2 separate regions of the Homo sapiens genome follow, and region 2 is linked to region 1. Evidence: promoter capture Hi-C in 16 types of primary human blood cells and fetal thymus (Javierre and others, 2016). All regions are on one chromosome and are shown on one strand. The core of a region is centred on a gene start or on the middle of the fragment in contact, and the rest is flanking DNA. Distances in the headings are between cores, read along the strand shown. Region 1 holds the start of PKNOX1 (PBX/knotted 1 homeobox 1). Region 2 overlaps RRP1B (ribosomal RNA processing 1B).

Region 1 (6,018 bases), core at 1,463-3,962:
GGTGAAACGGCAAAGCAGCTGGCAGAGAAGGCACCTAGCTGATGACCCCAGAGTCTTCTGGGCCCAGAGTGGGATGGCAGGGCCTGGGCTTCTGTCTGCCCTGGACTTGCTGCAGCTGCTTCCTGGGCTCTGGGTGACCATGCGCTCAGGTCCTCCTGTGGAACTCCTGCTGTCTCACAGGCCAGATGCAAATAAATGAAAGCTTCAGACCGGGGGCAGGTGTAGGTGTGGCCAGTGAGCCCCGGGCTGCTTCCAGGGGCCTGAACAGCATGTCACAGGGCCCCTGCCCCTGCTGAGAAGGGCCCAGGCTTGGGGTAAGGTTCTGCTGTCACTGCCTTGAAATTCTTCACTGTAATTTCTGAGCCAGGGACTTTGTCTTACTGGAATGGGGTCTCAATCCAGATCCCAAGAGAGGGTTCTTGGAGTTTACACAAGAAAGAATTCAGGGAGAATCCACAGAGTAAAGTGAAAGTGAGTTTGTTAGAGAAGTAAATAAACCAAAGAATGGCTACTCCATAGGCAGAGCAGCCCCAAGGGCTGCTGGTTGGCTATTTTTATGGTCCTTTTTTTTTTCCCTAGAATCCGTTCCTGAATTATATTGGTTATTTCTTGATCACGTGCTAAACAAGGGGTGGATTATTCATGAGTTTTCTGGGAAAGTGGTGGGGAATTCCCAGAACTTAGGCTTCCTCTTCCATTTATTTATTTATTTATTGGAGATGGAGTCTTGCTCGTTGCCCAGGCTGGAGTGCAATGGCGTGATCTCGGCTCACTGCAACCTTTGCTTCCCAGGTTCAAGCGATTCTCCTGCCTCAGCCTCCCAAGTAGCTGGGACTACAGGTGTATGCCACCACGCCTGCTTAATTTTTTGGTATTTTTAGTAGAGATGGGGTTTCACCATATTGGCCATGCTGGTCTCAACTCCTGACCTCAAGTAATCTGCCCGCCTTGGCCTCCCCAAAGTGCTGGGATTACTGGCGTGAGCCACTGCGCCCGACCCCTTTTAGGCAATGTAGGGTATCTTCCAAACGTTGCCATGGCATTTGAAAACTGTCATGGCGCTGGCGAGAGTGTGTTTTACCAAGCTCATATATTATAATTAGTGTATAATCAGCAGTGAGGAAGGCCACAGGTCACTTTCCCCGCCATCTTGGTTTTGGTGGGATTTGGCCGGCTTCTTTACTGCATCCTGTTTTATCAGCAGGATCCTTGTGACCTGTGTCTTGTTCCGACCTCCTATCTCATCCGATTACTAAGAACGCCTTAACTCCTGGGGGGTGCGGCCCAGCAGGTCTCAGCTTCAGTTTACCCAGCCCATGTGGAGTCTCTCTGTTCCAACACCTATTGACACTTGCATCTGGATCTTGCACTAGGCTCTGCAGATTATGCTCAGTCTTGAATACTGAGCTTTTTTTGTCCCCTTGAACTTCCCTCCTTGGGCAAGTATCTCAGGGCCTCCCTCTTGCCCACCCTGCTGCTTCCCATCTTTCTGAAAGAGGCGGCTCTGCAGCTGCACAGCACTTGGCCAAGACCTCCTGGCGGTGTGGAGCTCTGAAGACACAGGAGGGATGTCCTCCGAGCTGTTCATGCCTAGACCTACCCCCAGGCTCCCTCTAGCAATCAGCTCCAGTCCTGGGCCTGTCTGCCTTCCGGGAGGAGTGGGGGCCCACAGAGCTGCCCTTCCCGCGCTGTGTATGGACTCAAGGCACTGATGGCCTTCGGTGGGCCACTGCATAAATGGATGTTTCTGCAGTATTGAAGGCCAGTCAGGCAAACCGTGTGCTTTCCTACGCAGTGGGGAATGTGTCGCCCTTTCCTTACATCTTGGAGACCAAAGCCACCATCTGCACTTGTGGGTACATTGTGGCAGTGGTCGGTTAGGGTGGTCTTTCAAAGCAGTTTGAAATGCAGACACTTGTGGGCGTCCCCTAAGGCAGGTGCCCTTTACCTGGAGGCCGCATTGGTCACCTAGACCCGCAAGGCTCACCTGGGCCGGAAGGTGTGGTCAAGCGAGGCCAAGTAGCCCAGAGGCCACCCCTAAGCACCTGTGGACATCATGAGTCCTTGCTGGGGTCCTCACAGAGGGAAGACAGCCCCCAGGGTAAAGCCTCAGGTGCTAAGCACTCGCGCTGCCGCAGGGGGGGAGGCACGTGAGCATCCACTGTGCCGCCCAGGACGGGCCCACCCGGGCTCCAGAGCCTGGGGAGGAAGGCTGCGAGGCTCCCACGGGCTTACATTCAAACCGGGCACACACAGAACGGAGGCCTTCGGCTACGGGACGCCCGGCGGTGGGGTTACGGATGGTACAGCCCTCCCTCCCCGCCTGCTCGAGGCAAATGGTTTCGCCCGGCTACACACACCTCTCCTGGGCGGCAACCGAGGGCGCGGAGGGGGCAAGACGTGCGCTGAGGCCACGCCCCTACTGCATAGTCATAAGGCGGGAGGCTCTGCCTTCGGGGCGGGGCAGACAGCTCCTCGCGCTCGGGCGCGGCCGGTTGGGGGCACGGCCTAGCTCCGGGTGCGGGCGGGGCTGGAGGCGGGGCCGGCCACCGCCCGGTTCCCGCCCTCGCTCTCCTCCCCCAGCGATCAGGCCCCGCCCCGCGCCCGCCGCCGCGCAGGGAGGGGCGGGGCCCGTCTCCGGCAGGCCCCGCCCCCTCTCTGAATATTGATGCGGCGCGCGTCGGCGTCGCCCTCCTCCCATTGAGCGAGGCTGTGTCGCGTGGCCCAGCGTCGGCGTGACGGTTGGACGCGGGCGCGGCACTGCGGGTCCCGATTGCTGCAGCCGCTTGTCAGTGTGATGAAGATTGGCACCCAGGTAAGCTGTCACTCAACCGCTCCGCCGCCGCCGCCGCCGCTCTCGCCGCCGCCGTCCCTATCAATCACACCGGCCCGCGGCCGCCGCCCGCCGCCGCCGCTGCCGCCCGGGTCTGGAGGGCCGGCGCTGCCCTCGAGGGCCCGCATTTGACCCGCCGCCCGGGGCAGGGGGCGGGGAGGGGGCGCGGGTGGGGGAGGGGAGCGGGCACCCGCGGGGGAGGGGGCGCCTTCAGCCCAACCGGCGCGGGGGCGCGCCCAGTTGGTTTCTTAGTGTGGGTTGAGGGACGCGGAAATTTCTGGAAGGCGCCGCCGCCGCCGCGCTGGGCCTGATCGAAGCGCGCGCTCCTAACCGTCCCTTTCGGAGTGCGGCGCGCGCCCCGGCGCGGGGCGGGGGCGCGCGGAGCCCGGCGCGGGCGGGGCGGCGGGCGTGAGGGTCGGGGGCGCGCGGCGGGGCGGGGCCGGGGCGGGCGGCGCGCGTGGGGCCGGTCGGGTCCGCGGCCTCGCGGAGTCCTCAGGGCCGGCGGGGCTGCTCGGAGGGTGCGGGGCGCGCGGCGGCGCAGGCGGGAAGATGGCGGCCGCGACCCCGGCCCCGGCCTCGGCCGTGGCGAGCGGGTGGGTCGGGGTCCTGGGGGCGGTGGGCGTGATGGGGCTCGTGGCCCTCAGCCGGGCGCCGGCGCGGGAGCAGCCCAGGGCCGCTCGCTGACGGCAGTGTTTGGGGCCGGGTGCTGGGGAAGCGGTTCCGGCGTCCCGGGAATTGGTGGGAAGAGCCGCTTCTGTCACACGGGTCGTGGTAATGGATGACAGGAAGTGCCGGGCAGGGTCTGGGCGCCCTGTGGGTTTGCACCTTCCTTGTGAGGGAAATCGTGTCACTTAACGAAAAATGAAGAAACGCGGAGTCTGCTTTATGTCATCCTCGTGGCTCTCGAAATGCCTTATTTGGACAGTGGCTCTGCGACGGGACCAGTTAGGGCCTCCGTTCCGATGGCGGATTCCTGACGGGAGGCCCGAGGGTCCGGGAATGGCGGCGTCCTGAGGTCGGGCCCAGGGCAGGCCAGGCTGAGCGCCACGGCGGGGCCGCAGCCCTGGGGGGTGTTCCACCTGTGTGTGGGGTTCTCTTCCAACTCTACGAGAGTTTGCTTTTTAAAACAGTAGATGATTTTTCCTTAGGAAGTGGTTCCTCTTCAGGATGAAAGAAACCCCCAGCTTTAGTTAGGTCTACTTTCATGATTTTTCCTGGCATACTGAAAAATAGGCTTTCTCTAAACATAAGGAAGAATCGAGGTGAAATGTGAACCTCTGCCAGTATAGTTATTGGTGATGCTCTTGCATTTAGTCATAATTTGGAAGATGGCAGGCTGACCCCAATGAGCCTTTCATCACTCTGCTTAATTTACTTAGAGTGATTTGTGAATCCTGTCCTTGTACACAGGCGTACCTCAGATAATTCGAGTTCTAATCCAGACCACCGCAGTAAAATAAGTATTGCAGTAAAGCAAGTGACGCAACAGTTTTAGGTTTTTCAGTGCATATGAAAGTTGTAATTACAGTATACTACTTAAAGTGTGCAATAGCAAGCATTATATCTATAAAAATGTGCTTACGTTAATTAAAAAATATTTTAGTGCTAAAAATACTAATGATCATCTGAGCCTTTAGTGAGTCCTGCTTGTTTTATACTTTGACAATCTGGCCTCAGTGTGGATGGCTGCTGACTGATCAGGGTGGTGGTGGCTGTGTCAGTTACTTAAAATAAGACAACAGTGAAATTTACTGCATTGATGGACTCCTCCTTTCATGAAAGACTTCTTTGTAGCATGTGATGCTGTTTTGATAGCATTTTAACCACAGTGAAAATTCTTTCAAAGTTGGAGGCTATTCTCAAACTCTGCCACTGCTATCCACTAAGTTGATGTGATATTCCAAATGTTTTGTTGTCATTTCCACAATGTGCACAGCGTCTTCACTAGGAATAAATTCCATTTCAAGAAACCACTTTCTTTGCTCATCCGTAAGAAGCAACTGTTCATTATTTCCACCACATCTGCAGTTCCTTCCTCCACTGAAGTCTTGAACTCCTCCAAGTCATCATAAGGGTTAGAATCAACTTCTTCCAAACTCCTGTTAATGTTATTTGACTTCCTTCCATGAATCATGAATGGCATCTAGAATGGCAGATTCTTTCCAGAAGGTTTTCAGTTTACTTTGCCCAGATTCATGCGAGGAATCACTACCACAGCTATAGCCTTACAAAATGTATTTCTTAAATAATTAAGACTTGAAAGTCAAGATTACTCCTTGGATCCATAGCTGCAGAATGGATGTGGTGTTAGCAGACATGAAGACAGCATTCATCTCCTTGTGTACATCTCCATCAGAGCCCTTGGGTGACTAGGTACATTGTCAGTGAACGGTAATATTTTGAAAGAAATCTTTTTCTGAGCAGTGGATCTCAACAGTGGGTTTAAAATATTCAGTAATGTGTTATTCCATTTCCAGAGCACAGGCAAGAGTAGACGTAACATAATTCTTCAGAACCCTAGGATTTTCAGAATGGTCAAAGACCACTGGCTTCAGCTTAAAGTCACCAGTGACATTTGCCCCTAACAAGAGAGCCAGCTTGCCCTTTGAAACTAAGCACTGAGTTCTCTCTAGGTATGAAAGTCCTAGATGTCATCTCCTTCCAAAGGAAGTCTTTTGTCTATATTGAAAATCTGCTTTTTCGTCTCGCTGCCTTCATCAATGATCTTAGCTAGACCTGGATAACCTGGTGTTGCTTTTCTGTTAGGTAGCACTTGCTGCTTCACCTTGTACTTTCGTGTTATGGGGACAGCTTCTTTCCTTAAACCTCATGAACCAGCCTCTGCTGCTTCCAACTTTTTTTTTTTTTTTTTTTTTTTTTTTGAGATGGATTTTCACTCTTGTTGCCCAAGCTGGAGAGCAATGGCGTGATCTCGGCTCACTGCAACCTCCACCTCCCGGGTTCAAGCGATTCTCCTGCCTCAGCCTCCGTAGTAGCTGGGAGTACAGGCAGCTGCCACCACATACAGCTAATTTTTTGTATTTTTAGTAGAGACGGGCTCTACTAAATGTTAGCTAGGCTGGGACTTCTGACCTCAGGTGATCCACCTGCCTCAGCCTCTCAAAGTGCTGGGATTACAGGGGTGAGCTGCCGTGCCTGGCTCCAACTTTTCTTCTGCATCTTCC
Region 2 (6,462 bases), core at 1,597-4,096, 690 kb after region 1:
AAAATACTTTCTATAAACTCTTGAGTGAGCCCATACAATATGAACTACAATGTGTAATAGAGGTTTTAAGATAAAGTTTTATTTAGTTACTGATGGTACTAATACATTTAGAATCTGCTTAAAAGAACAGATATTATCTCCCCCATCACTGACATTCTCAGTTTGTTTTATTTTTAAGAGAAATCACCAGACTACCCAAAAAAAGAAAATACACTTTCCTGGGAAGTCTGATAGAAAAAGGAATAAAGACCAAAATTCCTGACTTTGATTCTGTTAAGAATCTCCCCAAGAGATTTTGTTTAGTCTCACAGTTCCAGGTACCCCATATATGCTGGTGGTTTCTAAACCTAAATTGTTGTCCCAGCCCATTCCTACTTGCAGCTCGGATGTGCCTTGCTAGCCTGGCTTCTCTACCTGGCACCTCACACTCAGGATGCCAAAAAAAGTTCTGTTTTCTTTCCCCGAAATCCTGTTCTCTGCTGCTGCTCCACTGCCACCTGTTTTCTTTTCTTTTGGTTGCTGGTTCCCACCAGCCATTCAGATTCCAGCCGGACACACGGGATTGTCCTGGACTCCTCTGAATTCCTCATCCTCTTCCCCTGGCCCACATCCAGTGGGAGGACCCCCGTCCTCCCTCGTTCACCTCCTGATGACATAAATTCTTGACCGTGGGCTCTTTGTATCTCACCGAAACTTCTGCGCCCGCATATTCCCCAACTGGTCTCCTTAACTTCACTTGTGTCCCCAGGAATCTGTCCTCCACAGACCAGCCCAGGGTCATCTTCCTAAAACAAATCTGATCCCACATCACCAATATTTTTTGAAATTCAGTGTCTGCAAGTCATGATCTGTCCTCAGGTGCTCTTCCTGCCTAAGCCCCGTGTAACTGCTTCATGTTCCGTCAACAGAATCGGTGATGGTTCTTGGTGTACAGCACACAATTTCTCACCTCTCTGCCTTTGCTTCTCCTGTTCACTCTGCAAAGAATCCCACACCTTCTTCACTGCCAGCATTCAGTTCAGTATCACTTCCTTCAAAAAGCCTCGCCTAGCATCTTGCCCTACTCCTCCAGGGTTCTAAAACATCCATTGTGTCTCTGTTGTAGCACTTAGCTACATTGCTTCTTAATTATCAATGTGTCATCCTTCTCCCGAAACACCGTAAGCTTCCATCTGTTTTCTTAGCCAGAAGTGGGAGTACATGCAACCGTAAAAGGTCTTGGCCTGTACAAGAGTGGAAGACCAGAGGCAATACTTACGGTGCTAAGACAGCCTAGACAGAGCCTTTTGCTCAAACCCTTTGGTGAGCCAGCCCAGGATTTGCAAATGCAGAGGTTATGCGGGGGCCTAAGACCAGTTTACACCAGTGCTCCAGAGTCCTGTCTGGTTAGTGCCTATCACACCCAGAGTGACTTGTCTTGTATATCTTGTTCACCACCACATTGCATGGAGTACAGTGGACCTTCAGAAAATAACTCCGCAGCATGAACGTCGTGGACAGTGATAATGGGACAAGAAAACACAAGGTCTCCACCACAGCTATGCCCCATCACAATTACAGCACAAGTTTGGAAATAACTTGGCCTGACATTCGACTCCCGATGACAGGCTCCAACTTTTCTGCATCTTGTCTTAGGCATCATAAAGGAAATGTGAGCTATCACTCTTCCTGAAACATGAGCTGTTCTGCAGCAACATCAATAGATAGCTTTGTCATTTTAAAAATAAATTGGAAATCTTTGTATTGCTTTAAGTAACAGTGTTGCGCTCTTGCTTTAACTGTTCAAGTTGGGTGCTCACAGTCATAAAATGATCACTCTCCATGGCTTTCATCCATAAGAGCTTATTTGTCCCAATTCATTCATTCATTCATATATTTAGCAAACATTTATGGAGTGCCAACTGTGTACTATTATGTACGCTATTCTTGGCACTGGGAATATAGCAGTGAACAAAACAGACCATCCCTGCCTATCTTATCAGTTCTGCAACTTTAAAAATATTGACTAAAATGGGGAGGCATCCCAAAATCAACCCAGTGACAATTTCATTTGTATCATTGCTTTCTTTTTGGCAGCATACAAAATAACAGTACATCTTATGGTTGATGCTATATTAGATTCAGTGTAGATGATGGAGGATATAAGTTTTTTTATAATGATGGGGTTAGGGTTCTCTCTATCCAAGAGTTATAATAAATAGAAGTTGTGGATGTTCTGACACTGGGGTGTGTTCAAGTTTAACACTTTACCCCCATCTAAAATGGCTTCTGGGCTCATTGCGTGGTGAGAGTGGCTGTTGGATTTGCTCATTTCAAAACTTACTAATATTTCACATGTCTACATGTCTCACTTTGATGTTTACCTCGTTTGTTTTGTGTGTTTTTGTTTTTTGAGACAGAGTTTCACTCTTTCACCCAGGCTGAAGTGCAACAGCGCGATCTCTGCTAACTGCAACCTCCACCTTCCAGTTTCAAGCAATTCTCCCGCCTCACCCTCCCGAGTAGCGAGCGCCCACCACCACGCCTGGCTAATTTTTGTGTTTTTAGTAGAGACGGTGTTTCACCATGTTGGCCAGGCTGGTCTTGAGCTCCTGACCTCATGATCCGCCCGCCTAGGCCTCTCAAAGTGCTGGGATTACAGGTGTGAGCCACACCGTGCCCAGCCTTTGTTTTTGTTTTTTTGAGAGACAGAGACTTGCTCTGTCGCCCAGGCTGGAGTGCAGTGGCACAATCTCGGCTCACTGCAACCTCCACCTCCCAGGTTCAAGCGATTATCCTGCCTCAGCTTCCCAAGTAGCTGGGACTACAGGCATGCACCACCATGCCCAGCTAATTTTTGTATTTTTTTAGTAGAGACAGGGTTTCACTCTATGATGGCCAGGCTGGTCTTGAACTCCTGACCTCAGGTGATCTGCCCACCTCGGTCTCCCAAAGTGCTGGGATTACAGAAGTGAGCCACTGTACCTGGCCTACCTCATTCATTTTGAAATAAATAAACCTATATTGTATTGTTGTAAAAACAGTAGTATTAAGTTTAAGAAATTTAGCCCCAAGAAGAAAATAGAGAAGACAAGACTGATGAAACCAAACTGCTTCAGATAATGTACTTTGCCTTTCAGAGCTTTGAAAGTAATTCAGTAATGAGCATTTCTCTCTTTTACTTTGAATACTTCAAAAATTGGTGGCTTGTTTTTATTAGATTCCTAGGTGAACACACACACACAGACATAAATGGAAAATAGATGTTTTAAAAGGGAACAAAATGGGCCGGGCGCAGTGGCTCACGCCTGTAATCCCAACACTTTGGGAAGCCGAGGCGGGTGGATCACCTGAGGTTGGGAGGCTGAGGGAGGAAAATCACCTGAACCCGGGAGGCAGTGAACCAAGATCGCACCATTGCACTGCAGCCTGGGCAACAAGAGTAAAACTCCGTCTCAAAAAAAAAAAAAAAAAGAAAAAGAAAAAAGGGAACAAAATGTAAAATGTATTCCTAGGAATAGAAAGTGAGACAATTATTATTGTAATCTCTCACCAACTCAATAGTGCTTTGTTCTTACAGTGTTTCACACGTCTTGGGCTTGACCCTAACAATAAATCTTTCATATAGTATAGGTGATAGAACTGAGGCCCAAAAGTCAGTTGACAGTTTTCTGATACTGGGCCCCTGTCAGCAGGAAGCTGGGGCCTGAGCCAAGGTTTGTTTCCGTGCTACTCTGTTGCCTCCTAGAAAAGAGACAATCAGAGTATCTTTTCTCATTGTATTAGCCTGTTCTCACGCTGCTAATAAAGACACTCCGGAGACTGGGTAATTTATAAAGGAAATAGGTTTAATGGACTCACAGTTCCACATGGCTGGGGAGGCCTCACAATCATGGCAGACAGCAAAGGAGAAACAAAGCAAAGGCAGGTCATCCATGGCGGCAGGCAAGCGGGTATGTGCAGGAGAGCTCCCCTTTATAAAACCGTTAGATCTCATGAGACTTATTCAGTCTCACGAGAACAGCATGAGAAAAACCCGTCCCCGTGATTCAGTTACCTCCCACTGGGTCCCTCCCACCACGTGGGGATTATTACAATTCAAGGTGAGATTTGGGTGGGGACACAGCCAACCCATATTACTCACCCAGCCCACTTTGCTGCCCACTGTCCAGGGTCTGTTGTCACTCCGTCAGAATCTACTGTTTTCCATTATGAACGCCTCTGTAGCACATCATACTGTGCCTTTGCCTGTTACAGGTGTGGGCTATCCATAGCAGATGCTAGGCAGACCACATTATCACTTACTGTTGGCTTGACCCAATGGTATACTTACAAAACCATCTGGAAATAAATATGCTGTTTTTAAGTGAGAAAGACCAGAATACAGAATATTATGCCATTTAGGTCACACACACAACTGTGCTTTTCTGCACTACCTGTAACTGTTCTGTAAATAAATGCCCAGGAAAGATCTGGAAAGATACACATCAGACAGGTTGCATCAGTCCCTCTGGTTCAGAGCCTGGGATTCAGGAGGCAGGGAGCAAGACAAGCTTGTGATTATATCACTTTGATGGTGGTAAGGTTCTTTGCAATAAACGTGTTTTTATTAGTTAGGACTCTTTCAGTTGCAACTTGACAGAACATCTACGCCATGCTAGTTTTATTTTATTTTATTTATTTGTTTATTTTTTGAGATGGAGTCTTGCTCTGTCGCTCAGGCTGGAGTGCAGTGGTGCGATCTTGGCTCACTGAAACCTCCGCCTCCTGGGTTCCAGCGGAACCCTTGGTGCCATTCTCAGGATTAAATGAGCGCGCACTCCTAGTTCCTGTGGGATCTGACTGTTAAAGAGCCTGGCACCTTCCTCCTCCCTTGCTATGTGACATGACAACTCCCCTTCCCCTCCAGCCAAGATGGGACACTCCCTGAGGTCCTCACCAGAAGCAGATGCTGGAGCCATGCTTGTACAGCCTGCAGAGCCTCGAGCCAAATAAACCTCTTAGCGTCAGGTGTTCCTTTATAGCAGCGCAACAGACTAAGACAGTGATGCAACTGGAAGTGCAGGAGCATTAACCAGCTTAAACCCAAAGAGAGGATTTGAAGGACCCAGGTTACTGCATGGGGTCAGGCTCAGGGCACTCCTTGTCCTTGCTGGGCAGCTACATTGGGATTTCCCTCCAAGGCTCTCCACCTTCAAGCAGGGTGTGGAGGGACTCTGTGGTCTGGGTGGGGCTTACCCCACGTGGAGAGGCGGCGGCTTCTGCCAATTCAGCAGAATTCCCTTGGCCACAGGACAGGTTCAAGAAAAGCCAAGTGACCCTCTGCAGGTAAAAATCTTCTTGCTCAGTCCTTAGGAGTTTCTAGCTCTCTCCTTACTGGACTTGAAGAGAACACACAGTTTGTACCTGCTCCCAGCCACCTTGTAACACAGGTGGAGCCTGTCTGAGAATGGAGACAATCTTTGGGGCAGCAGAGGTTGCAGTGGAGAAAAACAAGGTGCTGGCACCAGCAGTTGAGCTCCTGCACAAAGTTGTGCTTCACTTTCCCCCTTAAAACTAGCATGGCTGCCAGGCCTGGTGGCTCACGCCTGTAATCCCAGCACTATGGGAGGCCAAGGTGGGGGGATCATGTGGTCAAGAGACTGAGACCATCCTGGCCAACATGGCGAAACCCCGTCTCTATTAAAAACTACAAAACTTAGCTGGGTGCGGTGGCAGGTGCGTGTAATCCCAGCTACGTGGGAGGCTGAGGCAGGAGAATCGCTTGAACCTGGGCAGCAGAGGTTGCAGTGAGCCGAGATTGCACCACTGCACTCCAGCCTGGGCGACAGAGTGAAACTGTCTCCAAAAAAAAAAAAAAAAAATCCTTAATAGCATGAAATATCCAATCTGTTTAGTTTTTCTCATCAAATGTTTTTTATGAGCAATCCAAATGAGGACCACCCACTGCATTTGGTTAATATGTCTGCCAAGACGCTCTTAAAATCTAACAGTTCTTACCCATCTTTTTCTGTACAGTTTATTTGTTGGGGACATAGGTCATATGCCTTGTAGAGTTTCACATATTTGGGGTTTGTTGACTGCATCCTGTTGTCTCACTTACCATGTTCCTCTGTCCCCTGTATTTCCTATAAACTAATATTAATAGTTAAGATTTGACACAGTTGGGTGTTTTTTTTTTTGACACTTACTTTTGTAAGAATACTTCATAGGTTGGTGCAGCGTTCTTCCTGTTGGCATCACCTCTGGCATCTGATGCGTGATTATTGCCTGTGCATGTTAATGATCGGTCGGTGGGTTTGGGTGTTGATGGTCTGACACATCCACTTTCAAGTTTCTTAATATCGTTTGTTTGTTTGTTTGTTTGTTTGTTTGAGAGACAGAGTTGCTCTGTTGCCCAGGTTGGAGTGCAGTGGCACGATTATAGCTTACTGCAGCCTCAAATTCCTGGGCTCAGGTCATCCTCCCACTTCAGCCACCTGA

The links. The method cuts DNA at HindIII sites, captures the fragments that hold promoters and counts their contacts. A CHiCAGO score of 5 or more calls a contact.
Region 2: a fragment that was not itself captured here is called in contact with the fragment with the promoter of PKNOX1 in region 1 in 1 of 17 cell types (naive CD8 T cells); the score reaches 5.0 in naive CD8 T cells.

What each region holds. Positions count from the first base shown.
Region 1 is chr21:42,971,850-42,977,867 of GRCh38, forward strand. It overlaps PKNOX1 (PBX/knotted 1 homeobox 1), which reads left to right and starts at 2,713. Exons shown (of 11, transcript NM_004571.5): 1 at 2,713-2,815. RefSeq lists enhancers at 1-389, 3,512-4,238 and silencers at 1,901-2,060, 2,371-2,760, 2,891-3,210, 3,351-3,550. The HindIII fragment of the contact is 12,758 bases long and covers 201-6,018 here.
Region 2 is chr21:43,660,892-43,667,353 of GRCh38, forward strand. All of the region lies in intron 1 of RRP1B (ribosomal RNA processing 1B), which reads left to right. Among named protein-coding and RNA genes, the nearest start is that of RRP1B, 4.6 kb to the left of the region's middle. RefSeq lists an enhancer at 2,411-2,470. The HindIII fragment of the contact is 3,367 bases long and covers 1,164-4,530 here.